6 separate regions of the Homo sapiens genome follow, and all the other regions are linked to region 1. Evidence: promoter capture Hi-C in 16 types of primary human blood cells and fetal thymus (Javierre and others, 2016). All regions are on one chromosome and are shown on one strand. The core of a region is centred on a gene start or on the middle of the fragment in contact, and the rest is flanking DNA. Distances in the headings are between cores, read along the strand shown.

Evidence for each region. Contacts are between HindIII fragments. The CHiCAGO score rates a contact against its expected background, and 5 or more counts as called.
Region 2: a contact is called between a fragment that was not itself captured here and the fragment with the promoter of BBS5 in region 1, in 13 of 17 cell types (naive CD8 T cells, total B cells, fetal thymus and 10 more). The highest score is 7.9, in naive CD8 T cells.
Region 3: a contact is called between a fragment that was not itself captured here and the fragment with the promoter of BBS5 in region 1, in 2 of 17 cell types (total B cells and M2 macrophages). The highest score is 5.6, in total B cells.
Region 4: a fragment that was not itself captured here is called in contact with the fragment with the promoter of BBS5 in region 1 in 12 of 17 cell types (megakaryocytes, erythroblasts, M0 macrophages and 9 more); the score reaches 9.1 in megakaryocytes.
Region 5: a fragment that was not itself captured here is called in contact with the fragment with the promoter of BBS5 in region 1 in 7 of 17 cell types (erythroblasts, M2 macrophages, megakaryocytes and 4 more); the score reaches 7.4 in erythroblasts.
Region 6: a fragment that was not itself captured here is called in contact with the fragment with the promoter of BBS5 in region 1 in 2 of 17 cell types (total B cells and M2 macrophages); the score reaches 5.3 in total B cells.

What each region holds. Positions count from the first base shown.
Region 1 is chr2:169,476,744-169,481,094 of GRCh38, forward strand. It overlaps BBS5 (Bardet-Biedl syndrome 5), which reads left to right and starts at 2,751. Exons shown (of 12, transcript NM_152384.3): 1 at 2,751-2,869. The coding sequence starts at 2,811. RefSeq lists enhancers at 2,565-2,674, 2,685-3,024. The HindIII fragment of the contact is 729 bases long and covers 2,690-3,418 here.
Region 2 is chr2:169,927,032-169,931,680 of GRCh38, forward strand. UBR3 (ubiquitin protein ligase E3 component n-recognin 3) reads left to right here. Exons shown (of 39, transcript NM_172070.4): 17 at 289-374; 18 at 1,696-1,837. Among named protein-coding and RNA genes, the nearest start is that of UBR3, 100 kb to the left of the region's middle. The HindIII fragment of the contact is 2,048 bases long and covers 1,936-3,983 here.
Region 3 is chr2:169,872,101-169,876,608 of GRCh38, forward strand. It overlaps UBR3 (ubiquitin protein ligase E3 component n-recognin 3), which reads left to right. Exons shown (of 39, transcript NM_172070.4): 2 at 136-275; 3 at 3,691-3,849. Among named protein-coding and RNA genes, the nearest start is that of UBR3, 47 kb to the left of the region's middle. The HindIII fragment of the contact is 1,079 bases long and covers 1,816-2,894 here.
Region 4 is chr2:169,799,180-169,803,407 of GRCh38, forward strand. SSB (small RNA binding exonuclease protection factor La) reads left to right here. Exons shown (of 12, transcript NM_003142.5): 2 at 1,773-1,847. The coding sequence starts at 1,782. Among named protein-coding and RNA genes, the nearest start is that of SSB, 2.4 kb to the left of the region's middle. RefSeq lists a silencer at 1-126. The HindIII fragment of the contact is 1,968 bases long and covers 1,487-3,454 here.
Region 5 is chr2:169,769,455-169,773,919 of GRCh38, forward strand. No RefSeq gene overlaps it. Among named protein-coding and RNA genes, the nearest start is that of SSB, 27 kb to the right of the region's middle. The HindIII fragment of the contact is 4,325 bases long and covers 598-4,465 here.
Region 6 is chr2:169,905,616-169,910,041 of GRCh38, forward strand. UBR3 (ubiquitin protein ligase E3 component n-recognin 3) reads left to right here. Exons shown (of 39, transcript NM_172070.4): 10 at 416-549. Among named protein-coding and RNA genes, the nearest start is that of UBR3, 80 kb to the left of the region's middle. The HindIII fragment of the contact is 2,468 bases long and covers 129-2,596 here.

The sequences.
Region 1 (4,351 bases), core at 1,501-4,000:
TGAGAAAAACACCTCATGGCCTTTCACATTAGTATCCCTAGTATTTGGCATATAGCCTGACCTATAGGAGCTCTAAATAATAATTCAAAGCTGCAGTTATCAAACTTTTGGTTTTGGGACCCCACTATCCTCTTAAAAACATTATTGAGGACCTAAAAGAGCTTTTGTTTACATACATTATATCTGTTAATACTGAGCGTTTTAAAACTCATTCATTCAAAAGTAAAAATCACTTATTATGTATTAACATATATAGCATTTTTAAAAAATAATTATATTTTCCAGACAATTTGTGAGAACATTGCTTTACATTTTTGCAATTTTTTTTAATGCCTGGTTTAGTAAAAGGCACCAGGATTCTCATACCTGCTTCCACATTCAATCATCATGCCTGGGTATGGTGGCTCTTACCTATAATCCTAGTGCTTTGGGAGGCTAAAGCAGGAGGATCACTTGAGGCTACGAGTTTGAGACCAGCCAGGGAAACACAGAGAGACCCTGTCTCTACAAATAAAATAAAATGAAATAAAAAATTAGCCAGGACTATGCCCGTAGTCCCAGCTACTCGGGAGGCTGAGGCGGGAGTATCACTTAAGCTCAGGAGCTTGAGATTACAGTGAGCTGTGATCGTGCCACTGTACTTCAGCCTGGGTGAATGAGACCCTGTAAGACAACAACAACAACAACAACAACAACAACAAAATCATATAGCCTCTGGAAAACTCCACTATATGTGAATGGGAGTTAAAAAGGCAAATGATGTCTTCACATTATTATGAATATAGTTTGACCTTGTGGGCCCCCTGTAGGGATCCAGATCAGTCTTTGTGAACCACTAATTTAAATAATTGTCATGCATTGAGAAAAGGGACTTTGATTCATTCAAGAAGTATTTACTGGGTCCTACTCTGTGCTGGGTATTGTTCAAAGCAGTCAACTAGATAGATCAGGTGTCTGTCCTCGGGTTGTTCACAGCAGGTGGGGCAGAAGGATCAGGGACTGCTGGAGTTGACATGTGAGCTGAGATGTGATTTGATTTGATTTGATTTGACTTTTTTTTGGAGCCAGAGTTTCGCTCTTGTTGCCCAGGCTGGAGTGCAATGGTGTGATCTCGGCTCACTGCAACCTCCGCCTCCCGGGTTCAAGTGATTCTCCTGCCTCAGGCTCCCGAGTAGCTGGGATTACAGGCGTCCACCACCGTGCCCAGCTAATTTGGGGTTTTTAGTAGAGATGGGGTTTCACCATGTTGGCCAGGCTGGTCTCGAACTCCTGACCTCAGGTGATCCGCCCACCTCGGCCTCCCAAAGTGCTGGGATTACAGGCCTGAGCCACAGCGCCCAGCCCAAGCAGAGATTTAAGTGACAAAGGGCAGGCCTATGCAGAGGTCTGGGGAAACAGTGTTCCAGGCAAAGGAAGGGGGCCCTCCAAAGTCTCTGAGCCCTGTCTGGCAAGAGAGCAGCCAGAAGTGAGGGTGGTTGGAGGTTGCAGACATAGGCAGGGCCACATTGAGCTAGGCCCAGGTAAGGAATTTGAAGCTTTAACTCTAAATTTCTTTTTTCCTCATTCTAAAACCATCCCAATAAAATTTATAAAAGTAATCAGGGAAGAAAGTGTGGGGGAGGGGACAAAAATAAACCAAGCTTGCAGCCAATTCGGCATTAATCATGAGGTCAGCTTCCTCTCTGACCTGCTTGCTCAGAGTTGTTTGGTGCCTATTGTCCTAGAATCATGCAGACCCTGTCACAAGATTATAGTTCCCTTCTATTGCTCTATAGAGAACAACTTGAACATTATGAAATACTCAGTTTTCCCTTTGAGATAGTCTTTCAGATCCTGCATACCAATGAAACTACTGCCTCAGCTGGCCTGAAGGATCCCACTGATGCCAGCTGGTCTGAGGAACCCGTGAGAAACTGATTCAGCAAAGAATGCAGCTTCCCTATCCTGATGATTTCATCTCCCTTACTCCGACCAATCAAGGACCCCAATTTTCCAGCCCCTCGCCCTCTGTGATCCTCTTAAAAACCTCAGCCCAGAACTCTTGGGAAGATAGATTCGAGGATCTCTTCCCATCTCTTTGCTAGGTGCCCTGCAATCATTAAACTCTTTCCCTGCTGCAAACTCTGCTGTCTTCGTGTAATGGGTTTGTTACTGCACAGCAGGCATACGAACCTGTTGATCCTATATCTCTATCACCTAGGCTGGAGGGCAGAGGCACGATCATAGCTCCCCGCAGCCTCCACCTCTTGGGTTCAAGAGATCCTCCCGCCTCAGCCTCCCGAGTAGTTGAGCCTGCAGGCGTGCACCACCACCCCTGGCTAATTTTGGGTTGGTTTTGTTTGTTTGTTTGTGTTTGTAGAGATGAAGTTTCGCTATGTTGCCCAGGCTAGTCTCGAATTCCTGGCCTCAAGTGATCCTCCAGCCTCGGCCTCCCAAACTGCAGGGATTACAGGCAGAAGCCACCATGCCCGGCTAATAACCTGAATCTCTTGACGGTGAAGAGAAATAAGGAGAGGGGTAAAATGGCTAAAGGATGTCTGTTTGGAGGCAAGGAAGGTCGCCCAGAGGTCAGGCACGCTCCCCTTGGCGGACACAGCTGGGCTTCTCAGAGACTCCTAAATCCTGCCTCGCATCTCAAATCGGCTTAACGACGCGAAAGAGCTGGGCGACGCGCGCGCACTCTCGCGGAAGCTTGAGTCTCGGCGCCCGCCGTAGACGTCGTGACAGAGGCGGCCCGTTGCCTTGGAGCCAGAGAGACGCAGCTAGGCCTGCACGGCTGTGGAGAGATCCTGCCACGGGCCTTGTTCACCATGTCGGTGCTGGATGCGCTTTGGGAGGATCGGGATGTCCGTTTCGACCTGTCCGCGCAGTGAGTTTCCAAGATTCCCGAGGGATCTTCAACCCTGTAGAGGGCGCCGCCGTGCGCGTTAGGGACCCGCGGGCGGAGACTGCACCTCCGCAGCTCGCGGCCCTGGTGAGGGTGGGAGGCTTGCGCCGGTCGTCCGCGCCTCGAGAGACCTCAGGCTGGTTGGGCCACTGTGGCCCTCTCGAGGCCGGCGCCGCGGCAAGAGCGCATCGGCATTACACAGTTTTGGTCCCATGCGACCTCCGGTTCCCCCATCCTGGCCCGCGGGACGGATCAGGAATGTGAACCTGAGCACGACCGGGGCCACCCGGGGCTTAGCGTCCCGTATACACCCACGTGAGCTTGGGATTTCAGTTTCATGGAAGGAACGTAGGTCAGGGACTCAGGAAACTAGGGTTCTAAAAGTAGATGTGTAATATCGACCCACAGTGTGGGCCCTTGAGCAGATGTCTTCATCATTCAAGCTAGAATCCTCATGTCTGTAAAATAAGGGAGGTGGGAGTAAGGCAGTCGTCAAAAATTACTAACCGCGCAAACTTTATGTCCTTGGTAAGCTTTCATCTAGTTATTCATATCAGTCACCAACAAGAAGGAGTCTTCTTTTGCAACCTGTTTTTGGAAATTATCATACATTAAATAGAAACCATGTTTTTGGAAAGTATCGTAAAGAAAAAGTGGTTAGAAACCTCCTACTCCAAAATCCAGGGCGGGAAATGCCGGTTGGGTTACTAAGTGTTGAGAAACGCTAAAGCTAAGATTCCTGGATTAATGGCATGGAGCTTCTTAGCTACTTCTTATCGTTCCTTATCATGGACCTCCCCTCCTTAGGTGGAATCGTTCCTTATCATGGACCTCACCTCCTTAGATGGAATCGTTCCTTATCATGGACCTCACCTCCTTAGATGGAAAAATGAAATATTGATAAATTTCTCAGGTTAAGTATAGCTAGATATCTAATGCTAACATGTTAGACCCTTTAAGAAGATGAAAGAGAAAGGAATTCGTAAAATTACGGACTGTAGTAACATATTGCGCACTTTCTATGACATTTTCTGTCATTCTTTTTTTTTTTTTTTTTTTTTTTTTTTTGAGACAGAGTTTCGCTCTTGTTGCCCAGGCTGGAGTGCAATGACGCGATCTCGGCTCACTGCGACCTCCGCCTCCCAGGTTCAAGCAATTCTCCTGCCTCAGCCTCCAGAGTAGCTGGGATTACAGGCACGCACCAACACGCCTGGCTAATTTTGTATTTTTAGTAGAGACGGGGTTTCTCCATGTTGAGGCTGGTCTCGAACTCCTGACCTCAGGTGATCCGCCCGCCTCGGCCTCCCAAAGTGCTGGGATTACAGGCGTGAGCCACTGCGCCCGGCGACATTTTCTGTCTTTCTTGTAGGGTTCTTAATCCAAACAAAAGTCCGTTTCAGTAACATTAGTAAACATTTATCCATGTTTTATTACGTGCTAGTTACTGGGCCGATAGCTAGAGAC
Region 2 (4,649 bases), core at 1,710-4,209, 450 kb after region 1:
CTGTGGTAGTAACTGGCTTAGGGAAAAAAGGAAAGGATGTAGATAAATGTAAACAATGTTTCAAACTCTTGATATGTTGTACTGTAGGTATACCTTTTAGAATATCCTTTGCTTAAGGGAACTGCAAACAGCAGTTAAACTGCAGTTATGTTTGGAGCATAGCTTCTTTACTCTTTAATTTGAAGCATCTTATATTTGGTAAAACAGCTTAGTAAAAAGTGTGGTAAGTTTTTTTCTTTATAATTTATGTATACTCAGATTTGTTAATTCCGTTTTTAATAATTTTAGGAATGTCTGATGATGAGATTCTCAGGGCCGAGATGGTAGCCCAGCTGTGTATGAATGACAGGACACACAGTTCATTGCTGGACCTCATATCCTTTTAAAATTTTACTTTCTGTTAGTTGCAGGATCTAAAATAAGTATTTTTTATGATTAATAGTTTATCAATTTTTTGATTAATTTTTTTTCAAAGTTGAAAAATAATATAGAAAAAGAAGAACACCAGTTGTGTGCTCAAGTATGTATTCAAGCCTGGTGACTGTTTTTTTTTTTTTTTAACCTCCTGTTATTACCTCTTGGGGAACTCTTCTTAGACTTTAGGGTAGATTTCAGGACTGAATGATGGCTTTGGCCACCCCAGCATTTAACCTCCTAGTGGACAGCATTACTGAACGTTTTATAAAAGGCAGCTAGGTCCATTTTGTCTGTGTAGCCAGGATGCAATTCATGGTTAACAGTTAAAGGTATACCTTACGATTATTATTACCAGGATTTTAAACATTTTGAGGGTTTTTCTGTAGAATTTGGTCTTAAAGGATTTTTGAATTTATAGATTTTTGTGTACAAACAGGGAACCTGTGGTTCTTTGTATAGGACTGAACATACAATGAGAATCTGATTATCTTTTTAAGTTAATGTTAATAAAATTTTACACAAAGATTATCAAGTAATTTTGTGATAAAAATTCTGGCCGAATTTAGTATTTGTATATCTTATGACTATGTTTGGAAGAATTGGCTAAACTTTTTATTTTGTGAAATAAGTCCTATTAGAATGCCTGTTTGACAACCTTGATTTTTGTAAGCAGCCTCAATTTGATACTGTCTGATGATTTCCTTCAGTCATTATGAACTATGTGTCAGTGCTATTATAGAGTAAAAACGATCTCTGTGTCTTTCAATTTTAAAGATTTATGTGCTTTAATGTGAGGAGAGAATCTTTTTGGTTTGCCTCTTTGCTTATATTTGCTTAGTATTTTTTTCTTTGGGGATGAAATTTTGTGTTTTTGGAAAAACAATCTTTGCTCATAAAAATCTTGGCTAATTTTTCACAAGTTCTTTCTGTTTTTTAAGGAAAAGTTATTTACAAAATGGTAAAAATGAAGACACATTTTTAAAAGTTTTTCTATCGTTTTCTGAAATTTGATAAATTTATTTCGGGGAAAATATACCTGGGAACTACTGCAGCATACAATTTATTAGTAGGCTCCTAGATTAAACATATTTTCAAAAATCACAATTAAAAACAGTTATTATTGATCTGTTGTATTATATAGCCCTCTTGTGGCCAGCTTTGTATATTACAACCAATTACTATTTGTCTACTTCAGCAAAATGAGAAACTAGAGTACCTTGGAAAGGCTATAAATCTGGCTTTTTGTTACTAATATTTTTTTCTTGACATATATATCATATTCCAGAAAATCCTAATCCCAAAAGTGGCATTATTCCAGGCAGTTACAGCTTTGAATCAGTTTTATCAGCTGTAGCTGATTTTAAGGCTCCTGTTTTTGAACCTGGAGGTTCTATGCAACAAGGCATGTATACTCCCAAAGGTATGTTTATATACATAAATGGACTCTTTCAAATATCAGTTCTTGAATGGTGAATTCTTCTGTGTATTAAAAGAAAATGTTTACCTTTTATTCGTTCAAGCTTTGGTTTTCTTTTCTCCATTTTGTTATAAATGTATGTCTTTATTGGTAAACAGTGATACTGCTTTCAATTACTTAGAAATCTATAGCTTTATGTTACACTAAGACTTCTTAGATGACTCTAAACTATAAAGGAAATTTATATTTGAACTCTAATTCATTTTTATAAGTGATCATAACCATAAATGAACCAGAAACTATAAAACAAAATGTATATTAAAAAATATTTTGAATGTATTTACTCTCCAAATTTGATTTTGAAACAGCAAAAGAATCCTCACGACCCAAATTTTAACTTGAAATAGTTCAAATTAAAGTCTGTATAGGCCGGGTGTGGTGGCTTATGCCTGTAATCCCAGCACTTTGGGAGGCCGAGGTGGCTGGATCACCTGAGGTCAGGAGTTCGAGACCATCCTGGCCAACATGATGAAACCCGTCTCTATTAAAAATGCAAAAAAATTAGTCAGGCATGGTGGCAGGTGCCTGTAATCCCAGCTACTCGGGAGGCTGAGGCAGGAGAATCACTTGAACCCAGGAGGTGGAGGTTATAGTGAGACCCTATCGTGGCCACTGCACTCCAGCCTAGGCAACAAGAGTGAAACTCCATCTCAAAAAAAAAAAGTCCACATAGAATGCTGATAGCACTTACTTACATTTTGAACCTATGTTAAATGCACAGAACGTTTTCCTTAAGTGGATGATTGGTTTTGGAAGGTTTCTCCCGCATAGATTCATAGTTGACATCCTTGACAGCAGCCAGAAGTAAGTGAGGTTTTGATTTACACAGTCTTTTTTTGTTTGACTTTCATATTTTCACTTCTCTAAGTGAAAATTTTGAAGGAAGTAGCAGTTACGTGCTTCTTGACTCCCTCAACACGTTGTCTAAATGAAAAACCAATGCCCATTTTGAAGTTGTAAATAATATACACTGTACTGTGTGTGTTTGGCAAAGCAGAACAGAAAAGCCTTATTTGGGATTTTTCAGGGAGTTCACAAGGAGCAAGAAAATCCAGTCTCTGGTTGGAAAGTATTCCATTAAAAGAAAAGCACAGTATTTTTTTAGTGTAGAGGATATTTTGTGTGTAAAATTAGATGAATTTGGGAGTGGAGTGGTGCTGTGGTGTAGTGCAGTGCTTATAAAAGTGTGATGTGACGATTACATCTCTGTCAGACTCACTTGCGCTCCTCATTAAGAATGCAGGCCCCTGTGTCTCACCTCCTATCTGCTATCATCAGAATCTCTGTGGGTGAAATCTGGGAATCTGCTTTTTAAAACAAGCTGTTTAGATGACTGTTCTGAACAATGCTGAGATGGAATACTGGGCATTCGGAGATTAGAGCAAGGAAATTGAGTGTCATATTTAAATACCATATGAATTATATTTGCTAGTTGTGTGGTTTAGGAAATTAGTTGTTTTTTTTTTTGTTATTTTTTTGGAGACAGAGCCTCACTTTGTCGCTCAGGCTGGAGTGCAGTGGCGCCATCATAGCTCACTGCACCCTTGACCTACTGGGCTCAAGTGGTCCTGCCACCTCAGCTTCCCCAGTAGCTGGGACCATAGACACCCACCACCATGCTGGCTAATTTTCATGTGTTTTGTAGAGACAGGGCCTTGCTGTGTTGCCCAGGCTGGTCTCGACTGTTGGGCTTAAGCAATCCTCCTGCCTCAGCCTCCTAAAGTGCTGGGATTGCAGGTGTGAACCGCCATGCCTAGCCAGTTTTTTTATCTTTGGATTTGGCTTCTTATCTGTAAAATAAGTTTTTAAACTTTTAAAAGTGGTTGAAACAAGCCTCTGGTTTCGGGGACTAAGCCTTAAGTGAATTTGTCATATTAATATAAAACCAACAAAAGCTGGCTTACTCCTGTTAAAGTGGGTGTGGGTAGTGAACCTAGCTTCTTCTCTGTCCTGCTATCTACTTGCTCCTAAAGTGGCCCCTGTTATACATCTGTGGTAATTCAGCTCCATGGAACACTGTTTGAAGCCCACTGGACTAATTAATCACTGAAGTTTTCTTCCATTGCTAAGGTTGTGCAATTCTGATAAAAGCTTTGGCATGTTAATTATGCAAAATAATAGACTTTAAAGAGAAGGACGATCAAGGCCGGGCGCAGTGGCTCACGCCTGTAATCCCAGCACTTTGGGAGGCCAAGGTGGGTGGATCACGAGGTCAGGAGATTGAGACCATCCTGGCTAACATGGTGAAACCCTGTCTCTACTAAAAATACAAAAAATTAGCCGGGCTTGGTGGCGGGCACCTGTAGTCCCAGCAACTCAGGAGGCTGAGGCAGGAGAATGGCGTGAACCTGGGAGGCGGAGCTTGCAGTGAGCCGAGATCGCGCCACTGTACTCCAGCCTGGGTGACAGAGCGAGAATCTGTCTTAAAAAAAAAAAAAAAAAAAAAAAGGACGATAAATGATTCTAGAAATACTAATAAAGATCTTTGTGAAGGACTGTCTTCAGAATTTTAAGTCATACTTCTGATACTTTAAGATGAATAGCTTGTTACATGAAACTAGGGACAGTGGTTAACAATGGTTAACAGTGTCTTGTGCTAGAAGGTTGTAATTATAGTGGATGGTTAGGGAGAAGCTTAAGCTTCTTACCATGTTTTCAAATGTTAAGAATTTTGCTAGAGAGAATGAGAGAAAAAAATCTATTAAGGAGATACTCTTAAGGCGGTGGTTTCTAAAATTATTATCTCAGTTTATCC
Region 3 (4,508 bases), core at 1,105-3,604, 390 kb after region 1:
TTTTAACCTGGTACCTTAAAAATCATAAAGGAGGATTTATTGGCCTATATTCCATTTACGAATATTGTAAATAGAAATAATATATTTTTAGCTGATTAGACATTACTGTTAATTTTTTTCTTTTTCATATTACAGGTTTTGCAAAAGGCATCAAATTAAATCAAGTTCAAATATTCCCTGTGTCCCTAAAGACTTACTGATGATGTCTGAATTTGTTCTTCCAAGATTTATATTTTGTCTTATTCAGTACTTAAGAGAAGGCTATAATGAACCAGGTATGTTTTAATCTACTTCTTGTTAGTACTCTTTTTAAATTGTAAATTTACAAAGTTTTAGTATTAATTATGAGGTGAATTTTTTTAGATATCTTTTTTTGTTTAACATTTAAAAAGAGATGACTATAAAATACGGATTGAATAGAAACACACTAAAAATTAATTATATAACCTTATATGTTGCAGTAGATGTAGTTTCGTGCTTTCTGCTTCCGGGGTCATAAATGTTTTTGATCAAACTTATTTGAGCTTTTGCAGATGAGGAAGTAACCATTTTGTGGGGTTAACGTGACTTTATTTGCAATATTATGATAAAGCAGAATTGAGAACTCCTGGAAATGTTTAAATTTAACTTAGATTTTTAGAAGATAAAATGTTTTATCAACTTTTTTTTAGAAGTCTGTATATATTTTTATTCTCTCTATATATTATATAATAACTTATGATAGGGTCAAATTGCTGACTTCCAGATTACTGGTAGAATATATGGGTGTGTAATCATCATGTTAATATTTAAAAGAGAAAATTACAGATGTTCTTCTTACTTTTTAAGATTTAATCACAATCTTGATTAACATACTTCAGTTAGGTAAATATTTGGATTTAGGTATCTATTAAAAGTTCTCAGTCTGACATTGTCAGTTACAGATATTCATTAGTAGTATGAATCAAATTTATTAACTTTTTATGATGTTTTTTACCTTTCTAATGATACTTGAATTTCTGTTCTATAAGAGATTACATTTTGCATTATTTTTAGAGGTTTAAAATTATTTAGTACTATAAATAATTTTATATTCATTTTGAAACTGTGGCACACATTTTCATCTTCTATCTCCATCCTTAAAGTGTAGGGGAATGTTATATAATGTCCTCATTTCTAAAACTGTCTTGTTATCTTTATTGTGAGCAAACCATTATACTTCCTTATTTGTACATTTTAAGCAAAAATATACAATCCTTTGTTAAGTACTTCTACTTAACAGAGTATATATCTTAAAATATAGAAAAATAAGCTGGGCATGGTGTTTCATACCTGTAATCCCAGCACTTTGAGGGGCTGAGGGAGGAGGATTGCTTGAAGCCAGGAGTTCAAGACCAGCTAGACAACATAGAGACTCTGTCTTTACAAACATTTTTAAAAGTTAGCTGGGTGTGGTGGTGGCATGTGCCTGTAGTCCTAGCTACTTGGGAGGCTGAGGCAGGAGGATCCCTTGAGCTCAGGAGTTCAAGGCTGCAGTGAGCTATGATTACATCACTACACTCCAGTCTGGGTGACAGAGTGAGAGTGTGCCCTGTGCCCCACACCGCCCCCCAAAAAAAAGAACAGAAAAAAGAATATATAAAGAAAAATATTATTTTGATTTGGTTTCAAATTACTGTCTCTTCGGAATGAAGGAACCAGTTACTAGCTGGGTTATTGAAATTGCCTTATGCATTATTTCTTATATACTAGTTAGGAGACCTTTTTGGGAATTTATGTTTTGTATTACAGGTGTCCTATTTTAGAAATAGAAATTATTTATTATGAGAACCTTAAAGCTTATCATTAGTTTAATGAAAGAGTACTTCACATGAAAGTGTCTTATATTTTTTGTTGTTGACATAACAGTTATAAAATGTAGACAACGTAAGTACATAGCTTTATAATTATCTGTTATCTGAAAACACGAAGGAAAAAATGGAAGCATTTTTTATCTAAAGATGATCTGCATGAATGTAGGTTCATGGAAGTTTCTTCCTTATATTACTACTTCTGTTCAGCATTAATTTCTGTCTGTGCAAAAAAAATTCTGCCTTTTTTTTTTTTGAGATGGAGTTTCGCTCTTATTGCCCAGGCTGGAGTGCAGTGGTGCGATGTCAGCTCACCGCAGCCTCCGCCTCCTGGGTTCAAGTGATTCTCCTGCCTCAGCCTCCCAAACAGCTGGAATTACAGGCGCCCACCACCACGCCCGGCTAATTTTTTGTATTTTTAGTAGAGATGGAGTTTTACTGTGTTGGCCAGGCTGGTCTCAAACTCCTGACCTCAGATGATCCACCGCCTTGGCCTCTGAAAGTGCTGGGACTACAGGTGTGAGCCATTGTGCCCAGCCAAAATTCTGCATTTTTGTGTAGAGATTACTGTTTAAAATTAAAGAAATTAAAGAAAGGTCTTGCAATAACCAATCCAAGGTAATGAAAACTCAGAGATCTTGTGGTTTCCCAATTTCTTTCAATTCTGTTTCTCATTCATCCAATAATCCTTATATCTGTGTTAGAGTTTGTTTCAGAGCCCTTGAAAACCAAGAGCAAACATTAATTAAACATCTACTATATTACTATATAAGTCACTGGGGAGAATATAAAGTTGAATAATATATAACATTAGCTTTACACTGAGAAAGTAGGTTTTGAGATTCTGAATAAATGTTGAATGAAATGGACATCCCCTTTCCTGGGCACACAGGTTCTCCATTACCTCTTTTATAGGTGTGGTTTTGTTCATTTGTTTGTTTTTGTTTTAAAAAAATTATGGTTAAGCTATACATCTCTTTATTCATTTCCTTCCTTTTAGACCTCGGCTTCTGTAAAACCTCTCTATATTTTTCGTCTTTAATATTCTTTTTCAGTTGTTGTCCAAGCTTTTCTTTCTCTCCATCTCTATTTGCCTGTTTTTTTTTTAGTTTTTAATACAATTATTCATATTTATGAAAAGTTATCTTTCACTTTAGTTGCTTTGACCTTCAGCTAACATGTATCTGTATTTTTGGAATATTATAGGGGATAGGTTATTTGTTATACAGGTTTAAATTTGACATAATACTCTTATACTACTCTCAATGTATTTGAATTATATCTTGTTTTATTCTAGGATGTGATCTAAACTTTTTCTTAAATACTATCTTTTTTTGAAATGATCTTATGATGACATTTATATATGTGGAAGTATAGGGCCCACAGATCAAATGCTGCTGCTTCTTTTTGTTGTTTTTGAGATGGGGTGTCACTCTGTTGCCCAGGCTGGAGTACAGTGGCATGATCTCAGTTCACTGCCACCTTCACCTCCAGGCTTAAGCCATCCTCCTGCCTCAGACTCCTGAGTAGCTGGGACTACAGGCGCGCACCACCACACTTGGTTAATTTTTTGTATTTAAATGCTTCTTACACAAATTAAGTGCTTCATATCTTAGGAGGTCATCTGTGTTTTTCCATCTACTGTTTTCCAAAGGACTGAATTCCTGAGCAAGTCTACCCTTGCTTGGCTAGGTGCTGGGCAGATACCAATTTCTAAACAGAGTTCTTGTATTGACTTTTTTGATTATAAAATACTATAATTTAAGCCATTATAATTTTAAAAGAATAAATACTGTTATTTTTAGTAAGATATTTTAAACAAAATTACCCTTATTTGATTTTTTTTCTTTTTTTCTTTTAGCAGCTGATGGACCATCAGAAAAGGACCTTAACAAAGTCCTTCAGCTTTTGGAACCTCAAATTTCCTTTTTAGAAGACCTGACTAAAATGGGAGGAGCAATGCGGTCTGTTCTTACTCAGGTTTTGACAAACCAACAAAACTACAAAGATCTGACTTCTGGTGAGTAAAATGTTAGAAGAAATTTATAGTTTTCATATCTTACTATAATGATAAGAAATTGAGTCTTTTAGAACTTAAAGGTAAATTGTAGAATTTTCATAGAATGCTAAAGCTGGAAGTTATTAAGAGAACTTCTTTTTTTTTTTTTTTTTGAGACGGAGTCTAGCTCTGTCGCCCAGGCTGGAGTGCAGTGGCGCAATCTCGGCTCACTGCAAGCTCCGCCTCCTGGGTTCACGCCATTCTGCCTCAGCCTCCCGAGTAGCTGGGACTACAGGCGCCCGCCACTACGCCCAGCTAATTTTTTGTATTTTTAGTAGAGGCGGGGTTTCACTGTGTTAGCCAGGATGGTCTCGATCTCCTGACCTCATGATCCGCCCGCCTTGGCCTTCCGAAGTGCTGGGATTACAGGCGTGAGCCACTGCGCCTGGCAAGAGAACTTCTTGTTTTATGGATGAGGAAATTGAGCCCTAGGAAAATGAAATGGCCTGTTTAAACCTCACAATTAATTTATGTTGGAGTTGGTACTGGAACCTAGGTCTCCTAACTTTTGGTGTGACATGATAATTATGCTCTGCCTCTCTTTATTGTATTGTATTGTATTGTATTGTATTGTATTGTATTTTTTTGAGACAGAGTCTTGCTCTGTTGCCCAGGCTGGA
Region 4 (4,228 bases), core at 1,221-3,720, 320 kb after region 1:
GAATGCGGGATCCTGGGGTTCCCCGCACGTGGCTGGTGCCCAGGCAGTTCCGCGGTTGCTTAGAGACGGGACTGTGGCTGCCCTCATCCCCATTGCGTCTTTTTTTTTTTTTTTTTTTTTTACCTCCACCGCCTTCTAGTCTCACCGAAGGCTTGTGGCCATCTCTGTAAAGTTTCTGGGGAGGTGGGCACGGGGTAAACGCCGGAGGGTTCTGTGGAGCCTATGGGACTGACTGGAGGCCAAAGAACTTTGGGCCGCAGATGTACACCAGCGTCACTCTTTTGGTCTGTTAGGGCCTTCATCGCTCACATCAGGTTTCAGTGTGAAACGGGAAAACGTGGGTAATATTTCATTTACAGTCGTACATTCTGGAAAAGTATCTGATGAAACGCAGTTCCAAAATTAGGCCAAATAGGTTTTGCAGGGTCTAAATAGTTATTTTATTTCATCGTTTGCTTTGTAGGGGGCCCTAGATCACGGTAGTAACTTAGGAGTGTAGATTGTGATAGACAAGACAATGCATAAAATTGAGTAATTTCTCTAGGGGGATGTGGATCACACAGTACCCCGTTGCAAGTGCTTCCTATGTGTATCCATGGTATCGAATGCAATTGCAGTGTGTCAGGGGATGCTTCCAGGAAGTGTACCTACATCAGTTCATAACTAGAGTCAACTAATGGCAATATTCTCGATGATTTGTTCACATAACTTTTGTACAGTTGGGATGACTGGGTGGCTTAGTAGAGTCCTGGAGGCAAGTACTTTGTAAGTAGAAGACTTGGTTTGTAATTTCTAGCAAACTAATAGCACAGCTTCCTTTTTTCATTGCAGTGCTAATGTCAGGAATACGAAACAGGAAACTGGCTATCCAATGTATTAGTAAATTAGTAGGCATACTCCCCAGTTTAATGTTGTGTTAGTATGACCACATTCTCCCATTTTTGTTTTCGTATGTTCCTTAGCATAGAGTATCTAAGGAACTGTAACATTTTTCACCTTAAAGTTATGATGTCTAACTTGGTAACAAGGTTTGGGTAAGTCAGTTGTGACTACATTTTAAAAGAAATGAGGCCGGGCGCGGTGGCTCACACCTGTAATCCCAGCACTTTGGGAGGCCGAGGCGGGTGGATCGCCAGAGGTCAGGAGTTCAAGACCAGTCTGACCAACATGGTGAAACCCCGTCTCTACTAAAAATACAAAAATTAGTCAGCCGCAGCCGTGGTGGTGGGCGCCTGTAATCCCAGCTACTCAGGAGGCGAAGGCGGAATCGCTGGAACCTGGGAGGCAGAGGTTGCAGTGAGCCGAGATCGCACCATTGCACTCCAGCCTGGGCAACAAAAGCGAGACTCCGTCTCAAAAAAAAAAAAAAAAAAAGAGGTGAACCCATACCAAACAAATGCACAGAGAGCCATGGTAATATACAGATAGATAGTTATCTGTTTAAAACTGGAAATGGTTGGTAAGTGATTGGAGTTTTTTTCCCTAAAGCTTGCTTGACCAGCTAAGTGAAGATAAACAGTTTCTTGTTATAGAAGATGGGGTAGTGATTTACTGAAAGACAAGTTTTTTATAGTTTTTAGATTTTTTCATCACTTATTCCAAAGTGTTGCTTTGTTGAGATATTTGAGAACTGAGTAAAGAAACTGAACCCGTGAAAATAGAAATTCTTGATTTTTTAAGAAAACGGGATATTAATACTTTGTAAACATTATCTTTCTATTCTTGAGTTTTATATAAAAAATAACTTTATGCTAATTTGGGAAATTTTACAGATAGCCGCAATGGCTGAAAATGGTGATAATGAAAAGATGGCTGCCCTGGAGGCCAAAATCTGTCATCAAATTGAGGTATGATTCCTGTGCTATAAACTGCAAAAACAAGTTCCTTGAAAGAAAATACAGAAAGAACATTTAATTCTAGTACATGGACATATTCAACATTTGGTTTGCCTTTGATTCTTAGATGAACATATAATAGCATACAGTTTTATATTGGTGGAGCCAGGTTGTGAAACTTAAGATGTACAAACATTTCAAAAGGTAACACTATAAACTAGAGTTACTTAATCTTTTTAAAATTTTAGTTTCATAGTCTCATATAAAATTTTAGCTTCATAGTCTCATATAAAATGAGAATAATAGTAGTTCCCTCCTCATAAGGTAGTTTGGAGGATTAGTGAATATAATGTTAAGTACTTAGAAGAATTCCTGACACATAAGTAACATAAAAGTCCTTGGTAAAGTACCTTCCCTGTTAAATAACACTATATTTTTGATGATCTTAGTTTTTTTCTGCCCAGTCAGTTCTCAGCTATTGTAACTTTAATATAGTTTTTTTTTTTTTTTTTTTTTTTGAGATGGAGTCTCACTCTGTTGGCCACGCTGGAGTGCAGTGGCACTATCCTGGCTCACTACAACAGTATTGGCTCACTGCAGCCTCTGCCTCCTGGGTTCAAATGATTCTCCTGCCTCAGCCTCCCAAATAGCTGGGACTACAGGAGCACGCCACCACACCTGGCTAATTTTTGTATTTTTAGTAGCGACAGGGTTTCACCATGTTGGCCAGGCTGGTCTCGAACTCCAGACCTCAGGTGATCTGCCCACCTCAGCCTCCCAAAGTGCTGGGATTACAGGTGTGAGCCACTGTGCCCAGCCAGTAACTTTAATATAGTATCTGTTTTCAAAACCCTCTTAGCATTTTTTCAAATTTAGGTATTATGTTTATGTTAACGTAATACCTCAAGTGATCCGTAGTACCTTTGCAGTACTGATGCAGGAGGATGGCTTGAGTCCAGGAGTTAGAGACCAGCCTGGGCAACATGATGAGGCCCCATCTCTACAAAAAAATTTTAAAAATTAGCTGAGTGTGTTAGCAGTTTACCTGTAGTCCTAGCTACTTGGGAAGCTGAGGTGGGAGGATTGATGGAGCCCAGAAGGTAGAGGCTGCAGTGGCTGTGATCATACCACTGCACTCCAGCCTGGATGACAGAGCGAGACACTGTTTCAGGGGGCGAGGGGAAGAAACTTGAGAGTCTTCGTGAGCATACTCTGGCTGGGGAGGCTGCCTGATTTGCAAATCGTTCTTTGTTCAATTAAACTCAAAAAGAAAAAAACCTTAAAATCTTTACAATATCGATAATGGTTGCATGGGAAATTATCTCTAAACTTAGGTTCTTGCTAAGAACCCCTCAGATCATATTGTTTGGTGTGGGGTTTTTCTGCAATTCTCAGAACTGCTTTTTTTTTTTTTTTAAGCTGCACGTCTCTGCATTTAAAATGTCTCATGTTCCTTTTTTTGGTATTAATTTCTTTATGACTATGAGGAGAAAAATTAGAAATTATTCATTCTGTGTTTAATACTTAGAACAATACTAAGATGTATATAGAAAAGGTTGTATCTCTCCCACAACCTGCTAACTCTCAAATCCTACTCTTCTGAGGTTATCAAGGTTAAAAGCTTTTGACACTTTGCTTCATGCTCATACTAATTTTTTTAGTGGACCTTATATTTTACAACAGTTCTAGGTTTACAGCAAAATTGAGCAGAAGGTACAGAGATTTTCCATATATCCCCTGCCTCCACACAAGCATAGTGCCTTCACCTTTTAAAACATCCCCCACCAGAGTGGTACATTTCTAACAATTTTATTTCCTTCCCTTTCCCCCGCTAAATATAGGATGCATTTTTGTGGAGAAAAGTTTTGTAATCAATAATCTTTTCATTCTCCTCTTTAATATGAAGGATGTTTCTAATTTTTTTAGCTGTAATCATTCTTTGACAAATATTCTTATATATAAATCTTAGTAAACATGTTTATTGATTTCTTCAAGGAAAATTCTTAGAAGGAGCCATACTGGCTCAAGGATTATGCACATTTAAAAAACACTGATAATTGTCAGTTTACATCTACCTGAATGGCTAGTTCTCTGTGTTCAAGTCAATACTAGGTAGTCTTGGTTTTCTTTCTAATCTTAGCCAGTTTGTTAGGTGAAAAATGCTGTCTCGTTGCTTTAAATTGTATTTCTTTGATTAACAATGAAATGAGGTTGGATTTTTTTTTTAGTTTACAGTACATTATTTATTTATTTATTTTTTGTGATGGAGTCTCACTCTTGTCTCCCAGGCTGGAGTGCAGAGTGCAGTGGCGTGATCTTGGCTCACCACAACCTCCACCTTCCAGGTTCCTCAGCTTCCCAAGTAGCTAGGATTATAGGTGCACACCACCATG
Region 5 (4,465 bases), core at 1,510-4,009, 290 kb after region 1:
TGTTATGCAGATTATATTTTTCATCTACGGTGGCAGAGGATTTGAACATGTCAGTGCATATAAATTTATTTTATTTTTTAACTGCTCTATACTTTTCCAATGTGTAGATGAAACATAATTTCACCAGAATCTTATTGATGGACTCATAGATTGTTTAGTCATTTGCTTTTATAAATAGTGCTCAGTGAATGAATGTCTTTTATTTAACCTATACACAGGAACCATATCTGTGAGATAATTTTTTAGAGTGGATTCACTAGGCCAAAGGATAGTTTCCTTTTAAAGTTTTAGAGCTATTGAGAAATTAAAATCCAAAGAAGTTTTATTAATTTATACCCTCATAAGCAATATATGAATTTGCCTTAGCCTATCCCACAGTGTCAGCAAAGTGTTTGGTTTGTGCCACTGGTATCTTACTTTGGTTTAATTTTGAATGTATTGCTTAGCATCCTCATCTTTCTGAGTGAACTATCTTATCTTTTGTGTGCCTATTCCATTCAGAAGTTTTCCCTATGGATTGCTGAGATTTTCTTCTTGGTTTATAGGAACCATTTATATTTTTTAAAAATGACCACCTTTCTTGTGATCAGAGTTACAAGCTTCTCCCCATTCTGCTCACTGCCATGGCTTATTTTTATAGTTCAATTAACTAATAATTTTATGAGTTCCAAGTTTTTTGTCATAATACTTTTTTTTGTGATTATAAAAAAAGTTACTAGAAAATTTAAACCAAAGTTGTGACCAATAGAAATGATCATTACTGGCTGGGTGTGATGGCTCATGCCTGTAATCTCAGCATTTTGAGAGGCCAAGTCAGGAGGATTACTTGAGGCCAGGATTTTGACGCCAGGCTGGGCAATATAATGAGATCCCATCCTTAAAAAAAAAAAATTTAGTAGACTGGGCTCAGTGGCTCACACCTGTAATCTCAGCACTTTGGGAGACCAAGGCGGGCAGATCACCTGAGGTCAGGAGTTTGAGACCAGCCTGGCCAACAGAGGAAACCCCATCTCTACTAAAAATACAAAAATTAGCTGGGCGTGGTGGTGCATGCCTGTAATCCCAGCTACTCGGGAGGCTGAGGCAGGAGAATCGCTTGAACCCTGGAGGCGGAGGTTGCAGTGAGCTGAGATTGCACCACTGCACTCCAGCCTGGGTGACAGAGCAAGACTCCACCTCAAAAAAAAAAAAAAATTAAACATTAGCCAGGTGTGATGGTGCACACCTGTAGTCCTAGCTACTCAGGAGGCTGAGGTGGGAGGATTACGTGAGCTCAGGAGGTGTAGGCTGCAGTGAGCTATGATTGTGCCACTGCACTCCAGCGTGGGTGACAGAGCAAGACCTTCTCTCTAAAAAAAAGAAAGAAAGAAAGAAAGGAAATGAAAGAAAGCAGAAATTATCATTACTGTCTTGGCTGGATACAACTGTAGTCTTCAAGTGTATTTTGTAGCTTTCTATTCCCTATTTGAGTTTTTCATCTTGCGTAGCTGTAATATATTTAAAAGTAGTTCTAACTGGACATCTTTCCATAGTGACATCCACCTTCTGTGAAGCTCTGTGCTTTTATTCCATAAATTTTAAAGAAGTTATTGGCCATTACAATGGATGAAATGAAACTTTGAAATTTTTTTTCAATGAGGAAGCTCAAAGTTTGACAAGAAAACGACTGCAAAAATATAACAAAACATCTGTGGAAGTTGCACAGCATCCTGGCTCATAAAATCAGGATCGGAAACCATCAGTCTCCTTCCCGTTTCTGTTTCCTTTCTTGTCTGTAAAGACCAAATATTTAGGTCAGGCACAGTGGCTCATGGCTAGTCACCATTTTGGGAGGCCCAAATGCGTGGATTGCTTGAGGCCAGGATTTCAAGACCAGCCTGGACAACAGGGGAAAACCCTGTCTGTACAAACAATACAAAAAATTAGCCAGGCATGGTGGCGTGTACCTGTAGTTCCAGCTACTTGGGAGGCTGAGGTGGGAGGATCAACTGAGCCTAGGAGGTTGAGGCTACAGTGAGCCGAGATCACACCACTGCACTCCAGCCTGGGTGACAAAGCAATACCCTGTCTCAAAAACAACAACAACAACAAAACAACCCCAAACATTTAGAAGAATTTAAGATGAGGGAAAGGAGAGCCACTCGCCCAGTTCTCCAGTGGCCTAGTGTCCCTAACTTGTAGAGCAGCTTTACTTCCAGTCTTGGGGCTACTTTGCAGTCAGTTCTTTGATTAGAGAAGCACCTTGCACTTTACCAGGCTTTCCTTATGAGCAGATAGTTACAGGTTAGTCTATAAGACATTATGATCATGTCACTCCTCTGTTCACATCCCTGCGATGACTCCACATTTCACTCAGAGCTAAAGTCAAAGTCCTTACAATTATATGCATGGGTGCTACAATGACTCACACAAAGATGGACAGCCATAGGCCTGGGTGAAAGCTCAGAGAGTCTGGTTTCAAACAGGAAGATGGGAGCAATGGATACTGTGACAATTGACAGTCTCTGCCAGACATTAAAATGCTATGAAGCCACTATAATTAAAATTCTGGGCCGGGCACGGTGGCTCACACCTGTAATCCCAGCACTTCGGGAGGCCAAGGCAAGCAGATCACTTGAGGTCAGGAGTTCGAGACCAGCCTGTCCTACATGACAAAACCCCATCTCCACTAAAAATACAAAAATTAGCCAGGCGTGGTGGTGCACGCCTGTAGTCCCAGCTACTTGGGAGGCTGAGGCAGGAGAATCACTTGAATCCATGAGGCGGGGGTTGCAGTGAGCCAAGATCGCACTACTCCACTTACAGCCTGGGCAACAGAGTGAGACTCTGTCTCAAAAATAAAATAAAATTCTGCTGTGTTATATTTCAAAATAATGTAAGAAAATTCAAGAAAAACCTCTGGGGTAGTGAGACATGAATAGACCAAGGATAATTGAAAAACATTTATCTAATGCTAACTTTTCTTATATGCCTGGGTGCATATTCATGGAAGGAGTGTAAATTGACACATTTCTGGTGAACAACTGAGAAAAATATATTACAATTACCAATTGAAGACCGTTTTGAACATGAGAGTATTTTGTTAGGGCGGGAATGTTTCTTGATGTGTACTTCCAGGCTGAAGTAGCTCTCCTGGTTTAATGCTGCTGGCCTCTCTTCTCCTCCTCACTTGCTTCTCCCTAAGAAAGGAGGGGTGACTCCTCTAATTGTTAAATTTGTAAAGAATAAACTGGGAAGGCCGCATTCAGCCCATCATCTTCCTAAAACCTGCATGGGGAGACCTATGTTTGAAGAACATTGCCTATGATTAAATGGAAAGAGATCCAGAATTGGGAAGCTCTCTTATCTGCAAATGTAAGCAACATGCTTCAACATCAGCTGTCACCAGTAATGAAGTGACATTTTAATCACCTGTCTGCCTCTTTTGTCTTATTTCCTAATTGGCTTAGAATTTGGGTGAGGATGAGGAGTGTCATTTATTGCTATAAGATCCAAACACACATCTACGGGTTTATCCTACAGACATACTTACATATGTATGAAGTTACATGTGTACAAGGTTATTCATTGTAGCACTGTTTATAATACCAAAAGACTGAGAGCAATCTGAATGTCCATAGAGAGGATTATTTAAATAAGACACTGTTGCACAATGGACTACTATGCAGCCAAAAATATTAGTAAGCTCCAAGATATATTAAAAAAACAGAATCACAAAACAAAAGGTACAGAATTGTGAGTATAGTATGCTATAAATTGTGCAAGAAAAAGAAAAATATATAAATATCTGCTAATACCTTCATAGCATATTTCAGAAATAATATATAAGAAATTGGTCAGTTTATTTATTTTATTTTGCCTCCAGGGAAGAAAACTTGGTACGTAGGAGCATTTTCTATTTGATACTCCCTAAAGTCACAGAAATCATGGGTGAGTGCAAATTCAGAGCAGAAATCCTGTGTCTGAAAGTACTATTAAGTACCTGTATCTTTCAAATCTTGTTAGTAGATGGTTACAAATTAATTACTCAATCTTTCTGTCAAATCAAAATGCATTTGTACTTATTTAGCTAAGGTGTAAAGTGAAGTGATTATTATAATTTTACTTTTTTTAAAACTTAATTATGTTTCATTAAATTAGCATATAATTGAGTATCTAAATGAAACTTTCAGATAAATAGAATAAAAACAGAGGTACAAGGAGAGTTGCAGTACATGGCAAGTTTCATCGTGAAAAGTTTTTTATTTGCCTTATTTTCATTTACTCAAAAAAATACTTATTGAGAGCCTCCTCTGTGCCTTGCTTTAAAAACTCTGGGAAAATGGGAGCAAGACACTCTCTTTTCTTAGTATGGCCTACTCTAGTAGGGGACACAGATAACAAGTAAACAAGCAGGCCAGGCGCAGTAGCTCACACCTGTGATCCCAGCACTTTGGAAGGCCAAGGCAGGCAGATCACCTGAGGC
Region 6 (4,426 bases), core at 113-2,612, 430 kb after region 1:
CCATTTGCTTCAGCCTCCCAAAGTGCTGGGATTACAGGGATTAGCCACTGTGCCTGGCTTTGAAGCATTTGTAACCATTAATCTAGAAATGTGAAATCTATTGTCTGAGAAAGATTCGTAACACGTAAAGCTTTCAACTAACATCAATTAAAATTTTTTTGACTTTCTTATCAAAAGATATTCAGTTTATTACATGAGATAATTCATAAAATGTTTCTAAGAAAACCTAGTTTGTAAAAAATTCTGAAAGGACTAGATTGTTTCATTTTTAGTAATTTACTTATTTCTATATGTACTGTGTCAGTAATGCTATTTGTGTGCATAAATGTGTTTGGGACTGGGAAATGTACTTGATATTTAACATGAATGTGTGCTTCCACTTGACAAGGTTTATATCTGCTTTAATTTTTGCCAGGTATGAACTTAAACAAGCGAGAACTAAACGAGCATGTGGAATTTGAGTCTCAGACCTACTATGCTGCCTTTGCTGCTGAACTTGAGGCCTGTGCACAGCCAATGTGGGGGCTTTTATCACATTGTAAAGTTAGGGTATGTTGGAAATATTTTTGTTAATTTCTGTGTTTAAGAAAAAGACTTGTGAAAATATTGGTTTGTTCATTTGTATATAATGTGCAGTGTTTAATTTTGTTTCAAATTGAATTCAGCTTTATGAAAACTGACCTGAGACAGTAATTTTCATTCTTAGGCAGTTTGGAATTCATTATTATCAGATTTTTCCAGCCTGTTGCTATTGTGAACAGTCTTCGGAACTTCATTAGTCTCCACATTCATCTTTATTGTTTCATTTGTTATCAGTTGCCTAATGCTTCTTTCTTTCAAGGAGTAGGATAGTCCTCAATATTACACTTTCAAGATTCCAAGGACAAAACAAGTATAAATTCCACAAACCTTCCAGTGGTTGTTATATAATGTATATTATAATATATAATATTATAAGCATTGGTTTGATGGGTCTCCAGAAACCTTGGGCAGTCCAGACAAATGGAATCCCCTGACCCTATTAAACTAAAGACTTGACTAAAATTTTGATAATAGACACCATGCAGTTCCAGCCTGTTATTCTATACCAGTAATCATGCTGGACAAGATTTTGTAGTAGACATATTTTGAAGCCCTGGGTTCTAGTTTTGACTCTGCTTCTTTTTTACTTGCGTGACTTGGTCAGCTCATTTAAAAATATTTGAATTTCTCAGTCTGTTTACTGACCTTTTAAAAACAAAGTGAAAGAGAAATGGGACAGTAAAGCCTGCTCTTTGTTATTGTGAAGCTGTCTTCCATCTACCACTTAAGCGTATGTGTTTCTTTAAGTAGATTTATACTTTCTTTTGTTAGTTCAGCCATTCTCTAAATGCAGATGACTTACAGCCTTGTTACAATCTTACTAGGTTCAAATTTCTTTCTTTTTTTTTTTTTTTTTTTTTTAGAGGGAGTCTCTCTGTTGCCAGGCTGGAGTGCAGTGGCACCATCTCAGCTTACTGCAACCTCCATCTCCCAGGTTTAAGCAATTCTCCTGCCTGAGCCTCCCGAGTAGCTGGGATTACAGGTGTGCACCGGCACACCTGGCTAATTTTTGTATTTTTTGTAGAGACAGGGTTTCACCATGTTGTCCCGGTTCAAATTTCTAACAGGTCTGATTATTCATGTAGATCCCCTTGTAGGTACATGAATTTTCTCAGGTTCTGAATTAACTTTTAAAAACTATCTGTCCATATGATATTTCCTTTTGTGCCCTTTTTGTCATTTAATGGTATCTTAAATTATGTAATTGTCCATTCTGGAAACTTTCTTCCCTTGCTGTGCTAGCTGTGTTTAACCTGTAAGCAGATACTAAGAATCTTTCGTTCTAGAAATATTCCTCTCCTGCTTTTTTCCTTTATTTCTCTGTATTTTAAAAATATGGATTATTAAGGTAATTTCTTAACTGGTTTTCGTGTTTCTAGACCCTTTCTACTGTAATCTGTCTCAATACCAAAGTTACTTTTCTAAGCTCTATATATCTCCCTCTCCTTTACTTAAAAATCATTCAAGTTCTCATCAATCTACAGGATAACATCTGTTTTTCCTATAGAGACATTTAAAATTCTCCACAAGTTGCCCTCAACTTGTCTCTCATAATTCGTTATCTTTTTTTTTAATTTTTAAATTTTTTTTTATTTTTTGAGATGGAGTCTCACTCACTGTCACCCAGGCTGGAGTGCGAACTCAGCTCACTGCAACCTCTGCCTCCTGGGTTCAAGCGATTCTTCTGCCTCCACCTCCCAAGTAGCTGGGATTACAAGTGTGCACCACCATGCCTGGCTCATTTTTGTATTTTTAGTAAAGACAAGGTTTCACCATGTTGCACATACTTGTCTCAAACTCCTGACCTCAGGTGATCTGCCCACCTCAGCCTATAATTCATCTTCTTATACCCCCTCTCCCTCCATGCCTTTATTGGATTGATTATTATTCCCCAACATGCAGTGTCCTTTCTTGATTCCTGTGCTTTTGTTCAAGCTGGTCTCTTTCTTTGGCATATGGTCTTTCATTCTCTTTTGTTGGCTCAGAGTTTTTCTTGCATGAGAGTTATCTTGGAAGCTTAAAAAATATGTATGCATAAGCCCCAGTGTCAGAGGTTTTGATTCATTTGATATGCAGTGGGACCTGTGTAGTGATTCTAACCAAAATGAAGAACAATTAATGTTAACTCTTTGAAATTTTAAAGTTTTCTTAAAAAATTCTCAAGACTCAGATATATAATCTACTCATTTATTCCTCCAGTCAGGTTTGTTTTCATAGTGTACCTTGTTTAATTTCCACTGTAGCATTTATCAAGAAACTGTCATATAATATGAGGTTTGTTTGTTCATTTATTCAAAAAATATATGCCAGACATTGTTTAGATGCTTAAGTTTTTGGTACTGAACCAAATAGATATGGTTCTTGCTCTCATAGGGGAGATAAATCTTAAGTAAGTAAACACATCGATTTACTTCAGAAGCTTTTGTAAGTGCTCTTTGGGAAAATAACAGGTTGTTATGAGGGAGAGTAATGAGTATGAGGACTGAAGATTTGAGTATCAGAGAATGCGTTTATGAAGAGAGAATATGAAGGACCCAGCTCTGTGAATATTAAATTGGGGTTAGTGTTTGTCGTGGGGGAGATAAGAGGGAATAGCCTACCTTCAGTAGGAAAGTGATTGGTCCTTTTTTTTTTTTTTTTTTTTGAGACGTAGTCTTGCTCTGTCACCCAGGCTGGAATGCAGTGGCACAATCTTGGCTCACTGCAAGCTCTGCCTCCCGGGTTCACGCCATTCTCCTGCCTCAGCCTCCCGAGTAGGTGGGACTACAGGTGCCCGCCACCAAGCCCGGCCAATTTTTTGTATTTTTTTTAGTAGAAACGGGGTTTCACTGTAGCCAGGATGGTCTCAATCTCCTGACCTCGTGATCCGCCTGCCTCGGCCTCCCAAAGTGCTGGGATTACAGGCGTGAGCCACCACGCCCGGCCTTGATTGGTCCTTTTAAGGAATTTGTGGCTGGAACCACAGAGTAAACAAGTTGGAGTTGGAGAGATAGGCAGAGATCAGATTATTATTGCAGGTATTCGCAGATCATGTTAAGTACTCTTGGATTCAGTTTTAAGGAGAAGCCACTGAAGATTTTTAAGCAAGGGTTTAATGTGATCAGATTTACACTTAAAAGATCATTCTGTTCCTGGAGAAGACTGGATTTGAGCAGGAGTAGCGTGGGTGGGAAGCAGCAAGACCAGGAGTAAATAGACCAATTAAGAGGCTATGGTAAATTGATCTCACTTATATGTAGAATCTGAAAAAGTTGAGCTTATAGAAGTAGAGAGTAGAATGTTGGTTTCCAGAAGCTGGGGCTGAGGGAGTGGGAAATGGGGAGATTTTGACTAAAGGGTACAAAGTTTTAGCTAGGGAGGAGGAATAACTTTGAAATCTATTGCACAACATGGTGACTATAGTTAATAATAATGTATTTTACATTTCAGAATTGCTAAAGGAATAGATTTGTAATGCTCTCACTACAAAAAATGATAAATGTCTGAGGTGATGGATATGTTAATTAGCTTGATATACCCATCCCACAATGCATGTGTGTGTGTGTATATATATATATATATCTTGAAACATCACATTGTACCCCATAAATACATGTGTTTATTTTTTGTCAATTAAATAAAAACATGCTGTGACAATAGTCTAAACATGAAATTCAGGTAGCATATATTTGATATGTATATATTCAAAGTATATTTTGGATATTCAAGATGTATTTTTGAGGTAGAATCTACAGGCTTGGTGATGGATTGTACATTGTTGATGAGAGAGAGAGACTTTTGAGTAACTGTGTATGGAAGTGCTATTTACAAAGCTAGTAAAGACTGAGAGAATGTCAAGTTTAGA